7 separate regions of the Homo sapiens genome follow, and regions 1, 2, 3, 5, 6 and 7 are each linked to region 4. Evidence: promoter capture Hi-C in 16 types of primary human blood cells and fetal thymus (Javierre and others, 2016). All regions are on one chromosome and are shown on one strand. The core of a region is centred on a gene start or on the middle of the fragment in contact, and the rest is flanking DNA. Distances in the headings are between cores, read along the strand shown.

Region 1 (2,700 bases), core at 144-2,643, 350 kb after region 4:
TGCCCAGGCTGGTCTCAAACTCCTAGGCTCAAGTGATCCTCCCGCCTTGGCCTCCCAAGTGCTTGGATTACAGGCATGAGCCACCATGCCTGGCCTATCATTATGTTTTTAAAGTCTAAGCAGTTTCTTCCAAGTGGATCATTTTTTCACTGCCCTTTTGTCCACAGCCTTCTTTTACAGGTATGGATTACCTGGTTGGTCCAACTTTCAGATTTAAGTATGCCTGTGGTCTCTGTAAGAGTGAGGAAATTTCCTCTTTGGGTCCAGGTGTGTGGTCCACCTCCTTGCCATCTCAGCCAGTGTGTCCTTGGTTTTTCTTACCTTAAGAAATCTAGTTTCTCTCTTTCCCTCAATTTAATTGCATGGTCTATAGAAGACCCTCTTTAAAAAATTTATTGAGACTTGCTTTAAGTGTTAGAACATCATAAATTTTCATAAATGTTTCATGTGTGCCTGAAATAAATTTCCATTCTCTGGTTATTGAGTACAGTGTTATATAAATGCTCATTTTTGTTATTCAAACATTGTATATATTTACAGATTCATTAAATAAATCAGTAGTTAAGAGTATAAAAGTCTTCCCCTGTGATGATGAATTTGTCTATTTCTTATTTTAGTTCCATGAATTTTTGCTTATATTTTAAGGCTATGCGATTGGGGTATTAAAGTTTCAAACTGTAATTTCCTCCTGGTGATTTACTTTGATAGGCAACTAGAAACCACTGAAGTTTGTAGAGCACAGAAATAACAGGATTGGAACCACTCATCCCTATATAGCCTGATTTAATAGAGACATTCTTTGTTTGCATTTTCATTAATTTGGTTTTCACTTATTTTACTGGCTTAATAAGCCCAGCTTGGGAATGAGAATATTTCACCTCCAGTTAGTATTTTGAGACCTAATTTTTCTGGCTTCAGGGAAAGAACCAAATTGATTTGGTTGCTAATAACTTAGACTCTGGATTTGAAAACTGTGAAGTTTCATTGTAAAATAAAAGATAATGTGCCTCATTACGGTAGTAAATGGTGGATGACAAAGAGGTTACAGGATGAGAGGACAAAGAAGTTTGTTTTTGTTTTTTCTGGTTTGGTTTGTGGGGCCAGAAAGGAAATCAGTAAATAAGAATTCAGTTTTGTACATGTCACTTCAGGGCTTGAGATACTCATAGGATTTCTAAGCAGAGCTATCCAGCAAATAGTTAAAAGGTAGCAGAAGCTTAGGGGAAAGTTCCAGAAAATTACAAAATCAAAAGAACGAATATTTACTTCTACAATGATCATTAGTAACAATAATGAGGACAGCAGTGACTTGGAACGTGGGTTGGACATAGCCAAATTCGGGTTTTAGGAAGAATAACTCTGGCTGTAGGGTGAAAGAAGGCCTAAGATGGGAAATAATCTAGAGATGGGAATACCAGGTTATTACAAATGTCTATCTCGAAGCAGTGAGGAACTACATTCAGAAAATAGCCACAGGAATAAAGTGGGGTGGTCAAATTCGAGGTTTATTTTAAGGCAAAATTTCTAGGTTGTGGCAATGAAAATATTAGGCTAGGAAGAGACAGAAAGAGAAGCTTGAAGATGTTTTTAAGAGTTTAACTTAGGAGACTAGGTGGTACACACTATTAATCAGCCTGGGGCATGTCAGGATTTTCCTTTATTTTCTTTGTCTTCTCTTTGTATGTATATACCACATTCTTCCTAGGCTCTGACAGGTTTCAAAGATATTGGGCCTAACATAATCTTGCTGGTAAGAAGAGACTAAATCACTTGCCTTTTAGGTACTTACAATTCCTAGTCCATGAGTAAATTTTTTGCAGCAATTGAAAAGGAGATTTAATTAATTGCATCCTGAGACAGAGAGCAGTAATTCACTACCAACATGCTGTTGTTTGTTTAACTCTATCACTCATTGACTCATTAACCTTCACAACATCTCTTACAGCTCTCTACTTTCCTAAGTGGAAGATAATACAGGTTGGCTCATCCAACTCCATTTTAGCCTATCCATCTCCACTCCCAACCCCTTGTGGCAGATTTTATAGCATCTCAGAGGCCAAAAAGCTGAATCCCTTATGCCATTTATCAGATTTCTTATAGCACTACTTCCTTCCACCAAGCAGATCTAACCACACAAGATTTAGAAGGCAGAGGTGAAAATCACAATGTCAAGACCATTCTGCCACCTCTGCTATTTCTCAGTTTTGTTGTGTTTTCTGCAGTGATTGTTGCATAGGTCCTGTCAGCGGTTGAATTGCGTCCCTCCAAACTGTTGAAATCCTAACCCCCTAGAAATTCTTAGGTCATATACCTATGAACATGACCTTATCTGAGAATAGAGTCTTTGCAGATAGACCAGTCAAGATGAAGTCAGTAGGGTGGGCTTTAATCTACTATGACTGTTGACCTTAAAAAAAGGGGAAATTCAGGCAGAGACAGACATGTGCACAAGGAGAATGTCACGTGAACATGGAAGTAGAGAATGGGGAGATGCATCTACAAGACAAGAAAAAACAGAGATTGTCAGCAAATCACCAGAAGTTAAGAGAGAGTCATAGAACAGACACTCCCTCACAGCCCTCAGAAGGAACCAACCCTGCCGACACCTTGCTTGGACTTCTAGCCTCCAGAACCATGAGACGATACATTTCTGTTTTTTAAGCCATGGCATTTGTGGTACTTTGCTGCAATAGCCCTGAC
Region 2 (2,700 bases), core at 144-2,643, 450 kb after region 4:
GTGAGACTCCAAGAATATATAGGGAGCATTTTGTAGATCTACGGCAGAAACCAAAAAGACAAATACAAATCCAGAATCATTACCTACTATAGTAAGGATAAACTGACAGCCCCGGCCAGGTGCAGTGGCTCACGCCCGTAATCCCAGCACTTTGGGAGGCCGAGGTGGGTGGATCACCTGAGGTCAGGAGTTCAAGACCAGCCTGACCAACATGGCGAAACCCTGTCTCTACTAAAAATTACAAAAATTAGCCAGGCATGGCGGCGGGCACCTGTAATCCCAGCTACTCGGGAGGCTGAGACAGGAGAATCACTAGAACCCAGGAGATGGAGGATGCAGTGAGCTGAGATCATGCCATTGTACTCCAGCCTGGGTGACAGAGCAAGACTCCGCCTCAAAAAAAAAAAAAAAAAAAAAAAGAAAAGAAAAATTGACAGCCCCTCCATGATGGAATGGCTCACCATGGTTGGCTTTCCATCAGGGAACTTTTCACCAAGAGGCTAGCTAGTCTTTCCAGGGTGTAGCATCAAATTGGCAGGAACAGAGGGACACTCAGGGTTGTTTGCTACTGCTGTCACCACCAAGTTTGGACATGCAGAATACCTGGCTGTGTCAAAGAAGCACACACCCACACCACCAAGCTTTTCCTCACTTTTAGTGACAGAGAACTAACTGAGGTGGCAACTTATATTCCGTTTTATTCATTTTGGAAGGCAAATCCCAGGATATCTCCTAGATAACAGGGATGCTAGAGGCATTAGGTTCTGGTATGTTTTCTAGAGTTTACCTCCTACCCTGTCATATATATCCTTTACCAAGATATATAGAGTACCAGCCACGTCCTGCTTTTCAGTCCTATCATGAAGAAGTCATCAATACAGCACAGCAGCATGGTACTATGAGACCAGCAACATCCCCAAAAACTAAAATGTGGCACAGAATCTGCAAACTAATGTATCCTAGAGACAGGATAGTAAAGGGATCTTTCTCACCAGGTCAGATGAAGCAAATGAGTCCTATTGGTTAGAATAAAGAAAAAAAAATAACTGTATCAATAACTGCATAACAGATATGTTTTAGAGCATTGTTTTTCTGTAGAAGACCAATTCTGGAAGAGCAGTAGTATTTAGGGTCACCACATTACTATATTTATGAACATCCATTGTTATTCTCCAAGATCCATTCATATTCTGCAAGTTCTGAATTGGGAAATTAAAAGGGAAAGTAATAGGAAACAACATCCCAGTATTTTGTATTTGCTTGGCATAGTATCTGCAGTTCCTTGAGGGCCATATTATTGCTTCCAATTTGCAAGTTGCATTGGGTGGAGAGATCCATGGTATCCTCTTGACTCTCCCTTTCATAATAGACCATAATCCACTGGATCAGACCCAATGTTAGCATTCTGCCAGTCACTATAGATATGTATTCTATCCAAACCAGAGGCAGGGTAACAGAAGTGTGGCTAAGGCTCTAAGAAACTATAATGCAAGAGAAACTCAGTATGGGGCAAGTCAGCGGAATTACAGGGTGAGAGAAATTTTAAGAAGAGAATCATAAGGCTTTAAACATTTCAAGAGAATAGACCAATAGTTTAACCAGTTGCAGATTTCAACAGGTCAGCCAGCAAGAGACATCTCAAATAAGCCCAGTGAAGACCTAGAGGTCAGCATAAGGACTAACAGGTGAAACTACCATACGTCATGGCCATGAAGAAAAAAGAGTTCCTATATCCAGACACTATTTTGGAGAAAAGGATGAACAGCCCAGAGAGGAAGTTTAAAGTATGAATTTAGCTGAATATTTTTCTAAAATAGAATATGATCATCTGAAAAAGCCTTTAATTGGCAAGTTTAAGTGTCCTCTTCCCTTTCTACCATTAAGAGAAAGATTTGAGAGCAAAATTCAATCAGTTCCAGAAAATAAAGAATGTTTGCTCTTTTTTTTACACATTAGTATAATGTGTAACATTGACTGCACTACCCATTATGTATCAATCAGTGCTAAATTATAGCTCCAATTGTATCATTCTCCTTTCCTGCTAAACAGTCCTAACAGATCATTCCAGAGTTATCTCCACAATTTACTTCATTCCCTCTACATTCAACCAAAACTGGCCAATGGTCTCTTCCCTTACACACAACTTAAGCTTTTCTGTCTTCGTGTAAACCAGAAACAAGAAGCCCTCAACAAGGCGGCTTAAGGAAAGGAAAGAGAACTAGAACCTGGTGGGTCAAGAGCTAAGGGATAAACAAAGCTGCCATATTAGCTCCATTGTAAGGAAGTACGCATGGACGTGTCCCTGAAAGTTTGGCCACTCATGCAGGATATGCCAGCACCACTACTCACAGGCCCTGGGCCTGGCAGTTGGGCTGCAGTGGGTGAGCCCCTCGGCAGAAATACATTCAGAAATCAAGTGGGAGGTGATATGGTTTGGATGTCCCCTCCAAATGTAGAGGGGAGCCCCCAGTGTTGGAGGTGGTCCTGGTAGGAGATGTTTGGGTTATGTGGACAGATCCCTTGGGGCTTGGTGCTGTCTCACTGTTGTGAGCGAGTTTTCACAAGATCTGGTCATTTAAACATGTGGCACCTATCCCCCATCTTGCTTCTGCTTTTGCTATGTGAAATACTGCTCTTACTTCACTTTCTGCCATGAGTAAAAGCTTCCTGAGACCTCCCCAGAAGCAGATGCTGGCACCA
Region 3 (2,700 bases), core at 189-2,688, 320 kb after region 4:
TTGTGGTCTACCAGAGCAAACACAGAAGAATGCTTTCTGCCCCCTGGTGCTCATTGTCTGCTACTGCAGCAGATGAGTCAGCTGAGATATGTTCCAGACAGAAGCAGAAGGAATTGTGTCTCTACTGCTTATAGCACATGAGCAAAGCCACAACTTTTCAGTGCGTCACATGTCAGATACCTCCTAAATATGCAAGTGTCAGGGAAATGAATGAAGAGGATCTCTCAATTCTGTAACAGGAAGCACCACTGGGGAGAATGGCAGAGGCTCTGGGCTCTGGCTCTTGTTGCTTCATTAGCCTCTCATCTGGGAGCCCTCTGGGGTGCTGGCTGGTCCACCCTGGCCATGTCTGGGTCTCTTGATTATGCCAGGTTATTCCCTGACTCAACACACTGACATGTGCTTCTCTCTCTGCCTAAAAACTTCCTCACCCCCTTCATCTCCTAAATCGTATCTCTCCTTCAGAATGTAGCTGAAGGGCCACCTTCACAGGAAAGTCTCAATCAGGACTTCCTTAAATCTTCTCATACCACCTGATTCTTCTCCTTCAAGGCACCCATTACGATTGTAATTGAATAACTAAATTGTTTAATGAATGTACAATCTGCTAAAATGTAAGCCCCTCTAAGGTCTTATTTACATTTGCATTTCCCATAGGTGTACAACATAATTTTTAAATGAATGAATGAATTCTGAAGCGAAAACATAACATTCTTAAATTTGACAGCCCTTTTGTTTGCAGATAAACCAAAGCCAGGCTTATCCTGGAGTATAATTTCAAAGATAACCAGGGGAAGAAGAGAGGAGAAGATAGGGAAGGGGTGGGACTGAATTGGGTCAAGGTTCTCTTCATTCTGTCTCACCAAGGAATAGTTGTACGCTAATGTAATTAAATGCCAAAACTAGCTTGCAGAAACTTTTCTCTTTTCTCAAAGTTCTCTAAGTTTACAAAGAGTAAGCATGCTTTTCAAATCCTACTTATTTTTTATCCTTTGCCTATAGTATGGATCCACCCTCCAAGACTCTGAAAGTTTTTAATTGTAGTATCTGTGCATGGAACATAAGCTTAATTACTAAGGCAATGCCCATTGCTTTGTAGGGCCACGAACAATGCTTTTCATTACTGGGCATAAAGTACTCTGTTGTTATTTTCTCTATAGCCTTATATTGGAATAAGCAATAATTGTAGTTTATTCTTTACAGATGGAGGCAATAAGCACAGACAGATCTGGAACCCTTGCCTACTGTGACATACAGCCGCAGTAGCAGGCAAGCCTGGGTCAGCTCCAGAGCGGCAATGGAGGGAAATTCCCAGGACTCTGGGTGTCTTGGAAGTTTCCAAGGCCTGCAACTGATCACAGATCCTGGTTTTCCTCCCATTGGCTAAAAAGATAATAAATACAAGTTACAGCTTGACTACTGTCTGAAAAAATCTTGTAATGGTTAATGGAAGAAAGAAGAGAAAGTCCAGATGTTTGTTTTTTTTCCCTGCTTAGTGTGAGTTGAATGCTAACTTGAGACTAGGTCTAAAGTAGATCAGAAAATGCTTTCTCTTTATAAGTCAATTCATACCAGAAAAAATATAGGACACAGACAATGCCCAATAGTTACACTGGGACATGGAAATGGAGAGGAAGGGGAGTAACACTTGTGGGGTTGATATTATCATTTCATCATCTATCTGAAATATCGCACAAGGGAGGGAAAACTGAAACAGTAAAAGCCACATACAGATTCCACTGTTTTTAACATTACATTTGTTTCTCATTCATTTAACTTTCAATAAATATTTATTGAAAACTCGCAATATACTAAGCTTTGAAAACACAACAAAGAATAAAATGAAGCCCTTGGTCTTTTGGACTTTACTTTTCATGGGCAGGGTACAGATAGAGAACAAGGCGGAATAATGTTCAAGTAAATAAGCCAGGTAATTTCAAACACTAATAAGCGTTACAATCATGATAAAGCAGGGCGATGTGATTGAGAGTGGCTGGAGGTGAGGGTTTGTTTTAGATCTGTGCTGTCCAATACAGTTGCCACTAGCCATATGTGCCTCCTGAGTATTTGAAATGTGTCCAGTCCATGTTGAGATGTGCTGTAAGAGATGAACTGAATTTCAAAAACTTAGTATGAGAAAAAGAATAGAAAATTATCTCATTAACATTTTTATACTAATCGTTGAAAATATCTTAGATATACTGGATTAAATAAAAATATCATGAAGAAGGATTTAACCTCTTTTTATGTGCTTTCACTGTGGCTACTTGAGCATCTAAAATTGCACTCACACTTGTTCTTTACCTTTTTGTACTGAGCAGCACTATGGATGGATAGTGTCGTCAGGGTGGGCCACCCAGCCTCTTAAGAAGATGATAATACACTTAGGAGGAACTGGGCATGCAAAGGTCTCAGGGCAGAGTAGTGCAGGCAAGGAGAACAGCAATTGCGAAGAACCTGAGGTGGGAACCAGCTTGGTGAGTTGGAAAAGAAAGAAAGCCAGTATGCCTGGAGAGAAGGCCAGGAGACAAGGAGGTCAAAAATAAGGTAAACCCCCGAGACCAAGGCTTGCTCATGCAGGGCTTTGTAAATGAGAGTAAAAAGTTTAATACAAGGCTGGTCACAGTGGCTTGCACCTGTAATGCCAGCACTTTGGGAGGTTGAGGCAGGAGCATCACTTGAGGCCAGGAGTTCAAGACC
Region 4 (2,700 bases), core at 38-2,537:
TTAAATGCTGGATTCCATCATTTCTGTAAAAGGTCATTCTACTCCTTTGCTATTTATACCACAGATAGAGACACAGCAAATTATTGGCTGAATGGATTTGGGAAACCAGAAGCTGCTGCTTCTGACGAACGAAGATGATAATGCATCACTTGAGACTGAGTGGATGAAAGGTGTAGAAAAGTTGAACCCTTCAAAGATGAGAGGAAGCTGCTAAATTAGCCCCTGACTAAATTACTAGCCATAATTGTACTCAAGCCAGTTCTCTTTGCGACTGCCTTGTAATCTTTGTTGTGGCTTGAGAGAGAAAAATCCCCATTCCCAGCTCAAACCCGTTTAAGGCATCTCAGCCCAACCCCCTCCTCCCAATGCAACTCTTCATAGCCCCCTGCCCCTCCTCCAACAAATTCTAATCAAGTCAGGTATAGTTCTCAGCTTTACCACTGCCATCAGAAGCACGGCTTACATTAAGGGTTTAGCAACAAAACCTCAGGCTTACTTCAGGCAAACATTCAAAAGCATTTAAGAGAAGCACAGAAAACAAAAGAAATAAGCAAAACCTGTCCTTACCCGCTTCTTAAAAAATTGGAAGGCTGAGCATTTCTTGACTGGGAATCCATTCATGTCTTTGTTTACCATTTTCCACCGTGGGGAATTCACAGTTATAGATCCAGGTTGGCACCCGCCTGGTTAGTGCATATCTGTTTCCCCGGTTTACCTCCTGCAGACAGTTAATGAAGACTGAGCGGGATGGAGAATCTAGCGGGGCTCAGTTCTTCACTCGCGCATTCTGCAGCACCAGCTACTGCAGCAACCTCTCCCCACTTTCAGTTGCCACCGACAGCGGCTTTTCTCCTTCCATCATTGCTCCGAAACATATGCATCACCGCTGCAGGACCCTGGGGGCCGGACGGTGGGATACGGCCAATCTCCGGGGAGATGCTGTGGCTCTTACCGAGCGGGAGAAGGGTACGCCTCCCCGCCCCCAGCTACCTGGCTGCTCTTCCGCGGCCGGCGCGGGGAGCGAGTCGCTCTTCTCCAGGTGATGCGCTCCTGGAGGCGGCTTGAGAGAGGAGAGTTGTTTTTGATTGTGCAAGTTCCAGTGGGAGCTGTAGTTAAGCAGCTGAGAGAAGGAGTAAGAAAGAGCAGAAGCCAGAGGGAGGGAGGGAGAACAGCGCCAGAAAGGCAGAGGGAGCGAGAAGGCGAGGCTGGAAGAAGCAACGGTTCATGAATATCTGAGCAGCGGATGGAGAGAAGGCACAGCCGGCTCAGGGCACACTGAAGAGCAGTTGACTCCCCTTGGGAGGGTTACTTTAAATAGCTTCTTTTCTTTCTTTCTTTTTTTTTTTTTTTGGTTAGGACCATTTAAATCAGAGTTTCATATAAATTGCACACCGTTTTTATTTTATGCTCATTGACATTCTTTTGAATCCTGTTGCTGAATAAAAGCCTCTCAACGGAAATGTAATCACATTTAATCTCGACCTGTCCAAACGTGGAAGAAAATGAAATAAAGTGCAAGCGTAGGTATAACAATGGAAGATCTCTCACTATGTAGAAGCTCTTTTAGCCTCCCCTCCCCTACTTGTCATTATATAGTGGGCAATGGTGACGGTAATTGTGTCTTTTTCATTAAAACAGCTTATTAAAAAAAGAACACAATGAACATATACAAAGTACTTTATTACACACATACACACACACACGAGTTATTACCAAAAAGTACTACTGAATCCATTTAATGATGAGGAAGGTTTGATAAATAAAAGAGTAAAGCATTCTTCCTATTAGGTGAAAAATTTCCCAAAAAATCCTTACTCATGTTATCCTTTGCACACTGAGCTCCTTTTAAAAAAGCCATTTAATTGTATGTGGCTTATTTTTCCATTTTTATTCTTTAATGTTGATATTTTATGGGAATGATTTTAAAGATTAGTTGATAGTAAAGCAAGAAAGCAAAGAAAATAAACTTGGCATCTGACCTGGCAGAAAGCCACCAACATCGGTGTGTGGCTTTCTGCCATCACCTGACCTCACTGTGCCTTTCGGACACTGCCTCATCCATAAAATGGAGGCAGCCACTCATTCATTCATTCACTCATTCATTTATTTAGTCATTCATTATTTGCTATTTCATTCCATTAATAAATCTAACTCTGACAAGTGTCCTCAGGATGTGGAGCCTTTTCATAATCATCACAAGGGAATATAATTGATAAATAAGTGAAAGGCGCAATGCTAATTTGAAACTGATTATGACCTCATTATATATAACACACCTAACATTGTTAAAGTATTTACATGGAAGTCTCTGGTAAGAAGAGAAACATCAGGTTAAACTGGGAAAGAAATGCATGGGTTTCATTGAATTGGACTATAAATCTCTACAGTTGGGCCAGAGTTTTTGGGAATAAACATGAAATCCTGTTTGCTAAATGCCTTGAGGTTTCCAAAAAGAAAATGCAATACAACTAAATGATGGCATGATAACCAAGGGAAAACAACTATTCATTTTGGAGAGATATGTTAAGTTGTCCAAGATGCAAGTATATGTTATGTAATCTACAACATTGATAAGTTTTTGTGGTTCTTCTAAAGAGTTCATTTAAAATTATGGTAGTTCAAAGGGAATTATTTTGAGACGATGGAAGTGTTCTCTATCATGATGATGGTGGTGGTTACATAACTATGCATTTGTCAGAA
Region 5 (2,700 bases), core at 176-2,675, 370 kb after region 4:
TAGATTGTTTTTACCAAAATGGAATTATGGTTTACATATGGTTATGTAATTATCCCCACTTTTTACAACATGGACATTTTTCTAAGTCAATACCTCCACCTTACTCGATTGTTATATACTGCATAACATTTGACTGAATATATCATTGTCTATTTAACTATTTCAAATATTTAAATTGTTTCTAATCTTTCCTATTATAAACAATATTGTAACATACCAACTCATTTTCAGCATGAGTACACTTAGTTTAGAAGAAATTATATTCTTCAACTTTACCTTCCTTAGATAGCAAATACAACAATCCCCAAATTACCAGAATCCAAAGTGCTGGAAACCACTTTTTGAACTGCCATTGATTCTGTCATATTGTAAATCAAACCAGGTCATCATTGGAAAGCATCCCTACTCAGCTACCCCTCTCTCCTCTACAGGAACAATGGAGATCTATATTATGTATGAAGCTTGTCTCTCTTAACGTTGTTACAAATTCTTTCCATTGTATTAAAATACTTTCTTTTGCAAGGGAAATAAAAACATACGCTTTAAAAAGTCATACAAATGAAAGAATTGCTACATCTATTTCCTCATTAGAATGCTATTCAGGGTGTGGTGGTACCAGGAAATTAAGAACCCACCCAGTTAAGGTTACTGAGTGATGGGTTCGTTAGGAATTTCCAACAATTTAATGAATTTCGTCTAAGAATTTGAATGTTCCCCTCAGAGAGGGTAATCAGGCATCAAAAACACAATGAAACCTGCCCATCTCCCCAGAGAGAAATGAAAGTTGCTGGTGAAGACAAGTAATATTAGAATCACATCTTTTCTTCACCTATTTCTGGTTTTCAAAGGGGACAATAAATTCCTAAAAGCTAAGGTATCAGGAGCAACCTGATAAAAATATTTGCCATTTCAAATTCTATATTCTGTGAGGCTATAAATGATTTTATTAGTTTATTCCCGAGCAAGTACCTTATAAGTTTTACAAGCAGAGAAGCGGAGACTGCACTCTATATGATGAATCAGTTGCCCAGGAAGAGGTGCCTGTCTCAGGCTTCCCAGGCTTTGCTAATTCCCAATCATTGCCAGTTGCCCCACGAGACAAGCATGACTGAGATAAAGTGTCCTTTCACAGCCACTGAACAAGCCCAGCATTGTCCCTTCCAGTTCTTAGAATGCGCTATTTTTAATTTAGCAGACTAGCTTTTATCTTGCTAAATGAAAGGTATTCTATACACTCTCCTGAGTTTTTTTTTTTCTCTTGCAGTCTCTTCTCCTGGGAAATTGAAAGATTTTTTTGAAATGATATCCAAAGGATACAACCTTGCCTATTACTTCCCCTGGAGAGGAAACAAGGCTCAGAGATTCAAGCCATAGTTTTCTTTACACTTGACAAGGTTTCAAATGCCCAGGATGTTCTTAAAAGTGTGGATACTGTTACACTGTACTAAGAATGCCTAGCCATGGCAGGGTGGTGGGGAGCGCTGGCACTTGGCAAAGGAGCTGGGGTTTTACTAATGACAGATCCCGATAGCAGGAGCCAGGTCAGAGCTGGCTGCATGCACTGCCCTGGGGCCGGAGGTACCTCTGCCAGGCTCCAGCCCTCTGCCTGCCAGCACACAGTCCTGTGGCGACTGAGGATTAAGAAGACCAGGAACCCAGGAACCACAGATCCCTGAGAGATGCTGCAAGTGGGAGGAAGATAGCTAAGAATGGGTTCCTTGCAAAGCCTTTCTTGTTGCTGCCTCCACAGTCCCTTCCTTCCCACCCACTCGACTGCCACCCATATATACTTAATGGGTACATAGTGAAATTGTTCTACCATACTGCATACCCTGAGTGGATTCTTCCAGGAAATGTTTAATCCCAACCAACCCCATCCTGCATCTCTGATTCAATCAATGGCCACTCCCATGGCCACCATCACCATCCCCTTAACACCTCTCCACCTGTCTCCATCCCCCAGCCACCTGGTGGACTAAATGGTAATATTTTGTCTTTCCTGTCCCACAGCCTTCCCGGATGGAATGTGCACTCCCTCATTTGTGTCTCTTTTGTGTTCTGTGCACACTTCTATTGTGCACCTGTAATGTTAGTCTCCCCTCTTCAAATACAGAGACTGGGTCTTGTCTACCTCTGTCTGCCCCGTCCCTGTACTAGGAACATGGCACTCAGTGAACGAATGAGTGCTGACCGACTAAAGAATGATTGTGTATCTGGCCAGTGCTGGGAAAAGCTGAGCATATGAGCAAGATGTCTTCCTCTCCAGGCATTCTCTTATCCCAGGTTGACCCCTCTGTCATTGTGGCTGCTGCTACTGTGGTTACAGTGGTGGTTGCTGCAGGTGTCCTCAACTCTGCTGCCTCCGCAGCCCTGTTCAGTTGTCTGCTGTTAAGCTTGTGCTCTTCTTAATACTTTGGCATGGGCTTCTCAGCCATTGGAATTCTTACCTCTATTAGAATCAGCTGGATCACTTTTACAAAATCTGTGCAGATGTCCAGGCTCCACCCCAGACCAATTAATCAGACCCTCTTGGCTGGGCGTGGTGGCTCACGCCTGTAATCCCAGAACTTTGGGAGGCCAAGGTGGGCGGATCACCTGAGGTTAGGAGTTCAAGATCAGCCTGGACAACATGGTGAAACCCTGTCTCTACTAAAAATACAAAAATCAGCTGGGTGTGTTGGCGCATGCTTGTAATCTCAG
Region 6 (2,700 bases), core at 96-2,595, 310 kb after region 4:
GGCAATCTACTCCCTAGGCAACCTTGCATTCTAGCTCCCCCAGAGAACAGTCCTGGTTTATGGTATTCTCAATAAAGCTCACATTGGTGCCTGCCATGGTTCCATCAGCTGTAGCCAGGGAGGATGGTGGCTATGCTAGAGCAATATTGTCACCCAAGCTCTCATCAGAAGGGTCTGTTAGTGAGGGATGCTCCTAAGGAAGCATGCTTTGAATGTGACACCCCCAAAACATACCTACTACATTCTTCCATGAACTTTAAAACAAAGCTAAATATTGTTTAGCTTTTCTTAAAGCTATTATTCTTAAAGCTCCTTATTTTCTATTAGGAGTCCAGTATAGCATGAATATCGTCAGGAAACACTTTTGATTCGGAAGGTCTCATATATCTTTTTTTTTAATGTTAGGGGGAAATCCTCTCAGAGGTTAATGCTGGGCCCCAAAATACCTGTCAGCCCTAAGAGCATGTTCTCTTCTCTCTTAAAATCCACACAGTTCACATCAGTGAGCCTGTGTCTGCCAGACACCTGCTGTCTTGTGACTGGTGTCCAACTCACCCCACAGAATGTTTCTTTCTTTTTAATGCCCCAAACCAAAATCAATAGCTTTTATTAACAGACAACATCTTCTTTCTCTTTCTTCCTTCCTTCCTTCCTTCCTCCCTCCCTTTCTTTCCTTCCTTTTCTTTCTCTTTCTTTTTCTCTCTCTCTCTTTTTCTTCCTTGCTATCTTTCTTCTTTTTGACCGAGTTTCACTCTGTCACCCAGGCTGGAGTGCAGTGGCAAGATCTCGGCTCACTGCCACCTCTACCTCCCTGGTTCAAGCGATTCTTCTGCCTCAGCCTCCTAAGTAGCTGGAACTACAGGCACACGCCACCATACCCGGTTAATTTTTGTATTTTTAGTAGAGACAGGGTTTCATCATCTTGGCCAGGCTGATCTCGAACTCCTGACCTCGTGATCTGCCTGCCTGGGCCTCCCAAAGTGCTGGCATTACAGGCATGAACCACCACACCCAGCCACAACATCTTCTTTCTATACACTGGTTTCTTATATGTGATCAGTACTTGGCTGTGCCTACACTTTCTGCTCACTGACCATAATGGATGCTTCACTTGAGTATTTAACCCAGAGCTCAGCCACATTTCCCCCTCCAATTTCCCTGTGATTTAAGTAGCCTGTCCAGACATGCTCTAACCGCAGGTGCCCACAGTGCTGTCCTGCACCTCGGTTACTCTTGACTTCATGGCCACAACAGACAAACAGCAGCTGAACCTAGGATCGTGGCAACTTAGAATGTCTGAGTCAGTTTCTATTACGTTCACAACTATGGAGATGGTCGAAAGGACAGATAGCGTTCAGTAGGCAGTTGGTTTGGGGTGGCCTGGGCAATTTTTTCACTATATCAATATTCAAGAGATTTAAATTTTTTTAATTTAAAATTAAGATAATATGCCTACAGTAAAGTTCACTCTCTTTAGTGTACAGTTGTCAGATTTTGACATCACGTACAAGTCATGTAACCACCACTATAACAAGATGCAGAACAGTTTCATCATCTGGAAATGTTCCCCCATGCTCCTTTGTGGCAGACACTCTATTCTAAAACACTCCTTAGGTGATTGTGATGGGCAGCCATGCAGGGGAATCGCTGATATGGCGCCAAACCTTTTATAAATGGAAAAGTTACGTGACTCGCCCGAGATCATGCTGCTTGACAGCTGGGGCTAGGACAGAACCTAGGTCATCGTTTCTCAGTTTTACTTTCTTCCAACACACACCACTTATTCTAAAGTATCCGGGTCCACAGTGGTTCCTCCAAGTAAAAACATACATATGAAATAAACAATAAACAAAAATAACCACAAACTGAAATGAAGAAACCCCAAATTAAAACAGAATGAAATAAAACAACCACAACAGATAATCCTGAGATTCCTTAAATTTACCTGAATATACTCAGAAGCAATAGCAAGATAGGAAAGAATGATTGTACCTTATTTCCAGCACAAAATGCTGTTCTTTTCTTTCTTTTTGTTTTTGCAAACACTGTGTGTCCTACCCAGTGCTAAAATACACCTATGGCAAGTCACCTCTAGGTATAATGTGCAGAAAACCGAGAAACTGTAGGGAAATTAAAAACTTAACTCCACAACTTAACTTCCTTCTCTTATTATGCCTCTGATCTGGATAATGAAAAGAGGCACACTTGGAGAAAAACATGCTGCAAATATCTGAGGGTGACTGGCAGACAGTCCTGATCCAATTATGGCCCTAATGATCAGCCTATAAATAAAGCAGCTTTGCCTCTTTTAGATGAGCTTCCTAAAGATAGAAGTTATTTTGTCTTGAGAAGCTCACAGCCCTACCCAGGGGATGGGCCAAGTAAGGCCACAGAAGTTTGAAACCCTCTGTGTTTTTCCAGGGAAAACCACCAGAGCTTCAGGTGGGTGTGCCCACATATGGCAGCACAACGTGTGGGAAAGATCCATCCTGGGGGTAAAGAGCATTTGCTGCTTTGCTGTGTGTGTGCCAGAAGCCAAAGTCAAGAATCACTTAAAATCCTAGGCATGGACTCAAAAGAGAACAGCAAGCAAGAGTCATCACTTCCAACAATGTGAACCTTTCATGAAGTCTGAATTAATTTTCCACCCGGAGATTATTTTTTTTTTTTCATGTTCTCTCCTGTCTGTCCCTCTGCAGG
Region 7 (2,700 bases), core at 44-2,543, 290 kb after region 4:
GATTTAAACCCCCACTCCATGCCCATTGATTGAAACTCTCCTCAGTTCCTTGATCTTCCAGTATCTTTCTAGATGGGAATAGTTTCTCCTCTTGTGGGGACCTGAAGCTGACGACCCTAAGACTCAGCTGGACTGTTCACACTCTTCCAATCAGGGAGACTCTATTCAAATGCTGTTGTCCTAAATTCCTATTCTCAGTCTGCTGTATCTCTGCCAAAACCTTATGCCAGAATTTTATTTGAAACCACAAGGACACTTATTTTGACCTTACATCTCCTCTGCCCCCACAGGTCATTGTCTGAAATGTAAGCTTCTCATCTGTTTTCCCTACTGTCATCCTCAGATATCTCCATGTGTCCTTTTCACCAATCTAACCTTCCACTCTTTTCCTTTCTTCAACTTTTTTCAACTATACTTTCTGAAATTCCTATTTCATGGTAATTAAACTTTCTTACAGACACACACACATGTACACACATACACCCCTAAACACACCTTCACAGAAAGACAATTGTATTTATTTGTTCTTGCTACAAAGAACTACCTAAGACTGGGTAACTTATAAAGAAAAGAGGTTTAATTGGCTCACAGTTCCACGGGCTGTACAGGAAACATGGCTGGGGAAGCCTCAGGAAACTTACAACCATGTTGGAAGGCAAAGGGGAAGCAGGCATGTCCTACCTACATGGCTGGAGCAGGAGGAAGAAAGTAAGCGGGGAGGTGCTACACACTTTTAAACAACCAGATCTCGTGAGAACTCACTCACCATCACAGGATCAGCAAGGGGAAAATCTGCTGCCATGAGCCAATCACATCCCACCAGGCCCCACCTCCAACATTGGGGATTACAATTCAACATGAGATTTGACTGGGGACACAGAGCCAAACCATATCAACAACTTTACCATCTTATCTTCAGTAAAACTAGATTTCTTCACAGTCACCACCTCCCCAGAAAACCTTCTGAAGTGAAGGACGCTAAACCTTCCTCCACATCAGCAAACCCGTTCAAATGACAGTGCCATCAGCCAACTATGAGACTGTGGTGGCGTCAGTATCTTCACAGATCCTCAGGTTTTCTTCCAAATCCTTGTTTCTCTATCCTTGCATGAAGACCCTCATGGCATCTGACTATTCTGCCTCCTTCCCTCCTGATTGCTGTCCTCTACCAGCTGTTTGACATCCATCATAAATCTTGGTACCTGCTCATAGCGCACTTCTCTATCCCATGTCCTGCTATCATAATGATAACACCAGTGACCATTAGTGTCCATGTGGATGACATTTCCAACACTCTAGATTCCCAGGTTCTTGAATTTATGAGTTCTAGTGGCCTTTACTTTCTCTAAACTCCAGCCTTTTATACCTACTGCCACATCCTAGACTGGGTTATAATCCAGAATCCTCCCACATGTGACACCTTGAGCTCTAATGCCTACTCTCTGAACTTACCTCATATATTTTGAAGTTTTTCACATTCACTAGTGCCTTTAAATCTATTTTTGGTGTTATATGTCTATTTCAAGTCCCCTGATGACTCCATTTTCTCCTAACAATCAGTGTCTTCCTAAAGTCACTTCCTTTACGACCTAGTCTGGACCCCATGGTTGATGACTTGAATTCATCACCAACAACCACGCACTCCTATTCTTATACTGTATGTTCTGTCAAAGTCCCAACACTGCACCACACTCAAAATCTCTGCTTTATTATTCTACAGCTAGAATGCTTACCACTGGTCTTCAGTGAAACCCTCAATGTCATTCGACGTATCTGTTTGATGCCCATAGTAAATTGCTGCTTTATCTTCCATTCTCTTTCAGGCCTTCACCACCATTCTTCTCAATTCCTCTATCCACAGTGTATCTTCACCATTTCCACTTTAATTAGACAGGTTCATGTTTAAGGGATCACTCTGATAGCAGTGAGGTGAGTGTTGTGATAGCCAGCCTCCAAGATGGCTCCAGTGATCATGGCCTTTTGATATTCATGCCGTTCCATAGTCTCCTTCCTCCAACAGAACATGCATAACCAATAGAGTACAGTAGACGTGACAAAGGTAACTTTTGGGGCTAGGTTATAAAAGGAATTTCAGCTTCTGCCTTGGCATCTTGGACTGTTTGTTCTTGTGGAAGCTAGGCTGCCAGGCCATGAGGGCATTCAAACAATTCTGTAGAGAGGGTTACCAAGGAGGAACTGGGGCCTTCAACTAACAATCCCAACCAGTATGTGAGCCATTTGAGAGTCACCTGGGAAGTGGATCCTCCAGTTCCAATCAAAGCTTCAGACAAGTGCGACTCCAGCTAGAATCTTGACTATGACTTCATCAGAGACCCCAACACGGAACCACAGAGCTTAAGCTTCTCCTGAATTCCTGACCCACAGAAACTACAAGATAGTGTTTATTCATGTTGCTTTAAGTTACACAGTCTTAAAATAATTTATAATGCAGACATTCATAACCAACACAGATGAGTTTAAGAGAACAAGACCAGAGGCATGCAGATTTGTAAAGAGGTCATAAAATAGTGCAGGCAAGTGCTGACAAGAGCTTGAATTAGAGCTGTGGGGTTCAGATGCAGAGAAGAGTAAAATCTAACAAATATTCAGGGATATAAATACACACAAAACTGAGTGGATGTGGGTGTTCTGGGAGCATGTAATTATTCTCAGCTTTCTAGCTTTGCTGGCTAGATGCCA

The links. The method cuts DNA at HindIII sites, captures the fragments that hold promoters and counts their contacts. A CHiCAGO score of 5 or more calls a contact.
Region 1: a fragment that was not itself captured here is called in contact with the fragment with the promoter of SGK1 in region 4 in 1 of 17 cell types (monocytes); the score reaches 8.4 in monocytes.
Region 2: a contact is called between a fragment that was not itself captured here and the fragment with the promoter of SGK1 in region 4, in 1 of 17 cell types (monocytes). The highest score is 7.8, in monocytes.
Region 3: a contact is called between a fragment that was not itself captured here and the fragment with the promoter of SGK1 in region 4, in 13 of 17 cell types (neutrophils, activated CD4 T cells, naive CD4 T cells and 10 more). The highest score is 18.1, in neutrophils.
Region 5: a contact is called between a fragment that was not itself captured here and the fragment with the promoter of SGK1 in region 4, in 1 of 17 cell types (monocytes). The highest score is 5.1, in monocytes.
Region 6: a fragment that was not itself captured here is called in contact with the fragment with the promoter of SGK1 in region 4 in 5 of 17 cell types (neutrophils, monocytes, total CD4 T cells and 2 more); the score reaches 8.6 in neutrophils.
Region 7: a fragment that was not itself captured here is called in contact with the fragment with the promoter of SGK1 in region 4 in 9 of 17 cell types (activated CD4 T cells, neutrophils, monocytes and 6 more); the score reaches 7.9 in activated CD4 T cells.

Annotation. Positions count from the first base shown.
Region 1 is chr6:134,667,819-134,670,518 of GRCh38, forward strand. No RefSeq gene overlaps it. Among named protein-coding and RNA genes, the nearest start is that of LINC03002, 130 kb to the left of the region's middle. The HindIII fragment of the contact is 358 bases long and covers 1,215-1,572 here.
Region 2 is chr6:134,770,227-134,772,926 of GRCh38, forward strand. The region is part of intron 3 of LOC101928277 (a long non-coding RNA gene); the gene reads right to left. Among named protein-coding and RNA genes, the nearest start is that of ALDH8A1, 180 kb to the right of the region's middle. The HindIII fragment of the contact is 1,508 bases long and covers 640-2,147 here.
Region 3 is chr6:134,641,080-134,643,779 of GRCh38, forward strand. No RefSeq gene overlaps it. Among named protein-coding and RNA genes, the nearest start is that of LINC03002, 100 kb to the left of the region's middle. The HindIII fragment of the contact is 751 bases long and covers 1,064-1,814 here.
Region 4 is chr6:134,316,825-134,319,524 of GRCh38, forward strand. It overlaps SGK1 (serum/glucocorticoid regulated kinase 1), which reads right to left and starts at 1,288. Exons shown (of 14, transcript NM_001143676.3): 1 at 568-1,288. The coding sequence starts at 636. RefSeq lists an enhancer at 836-1,115. The HindIII fragment of the contact is 10,717 bases long and covers 1-2,700 here.
Region 5 is chr6:134,688,294-134,690,993 of GRCh38, forward strand. The region is part of intron 4 of LOC101928277 (a long non-coding RNA gene); the gene reads right to left. Among named protein-coding and RNA genes, the nearest start is that of LINC03002, 150 kb to the left of the region's middle. The HindIII fragment of the contact is 1,932 bases long and covers 460-2,391 here.
Region 6 is chr6:134,623,746-134,626,445 of GRCh38, forward strand. No RefSeq gene overlaps it. Among named protein-coding and RNA genes, the nearest start is that of LINC03002, 85 kb to the left of the region's middle. The HindIII fragment of the contact is 7,681 bases long and covers 1-2,700 here.
Region 7 is chr6:134,607,364-134,610,063 of GRCh38, forward strand. No RefSeq gene overlaps it. Among named protein-coding and RNA genes, the nearest start is that of LINC03002, 69 kb to the left of the region's middle. The HindIII fragment of the contact is 1,971 bases long and covers 309-2,279 here.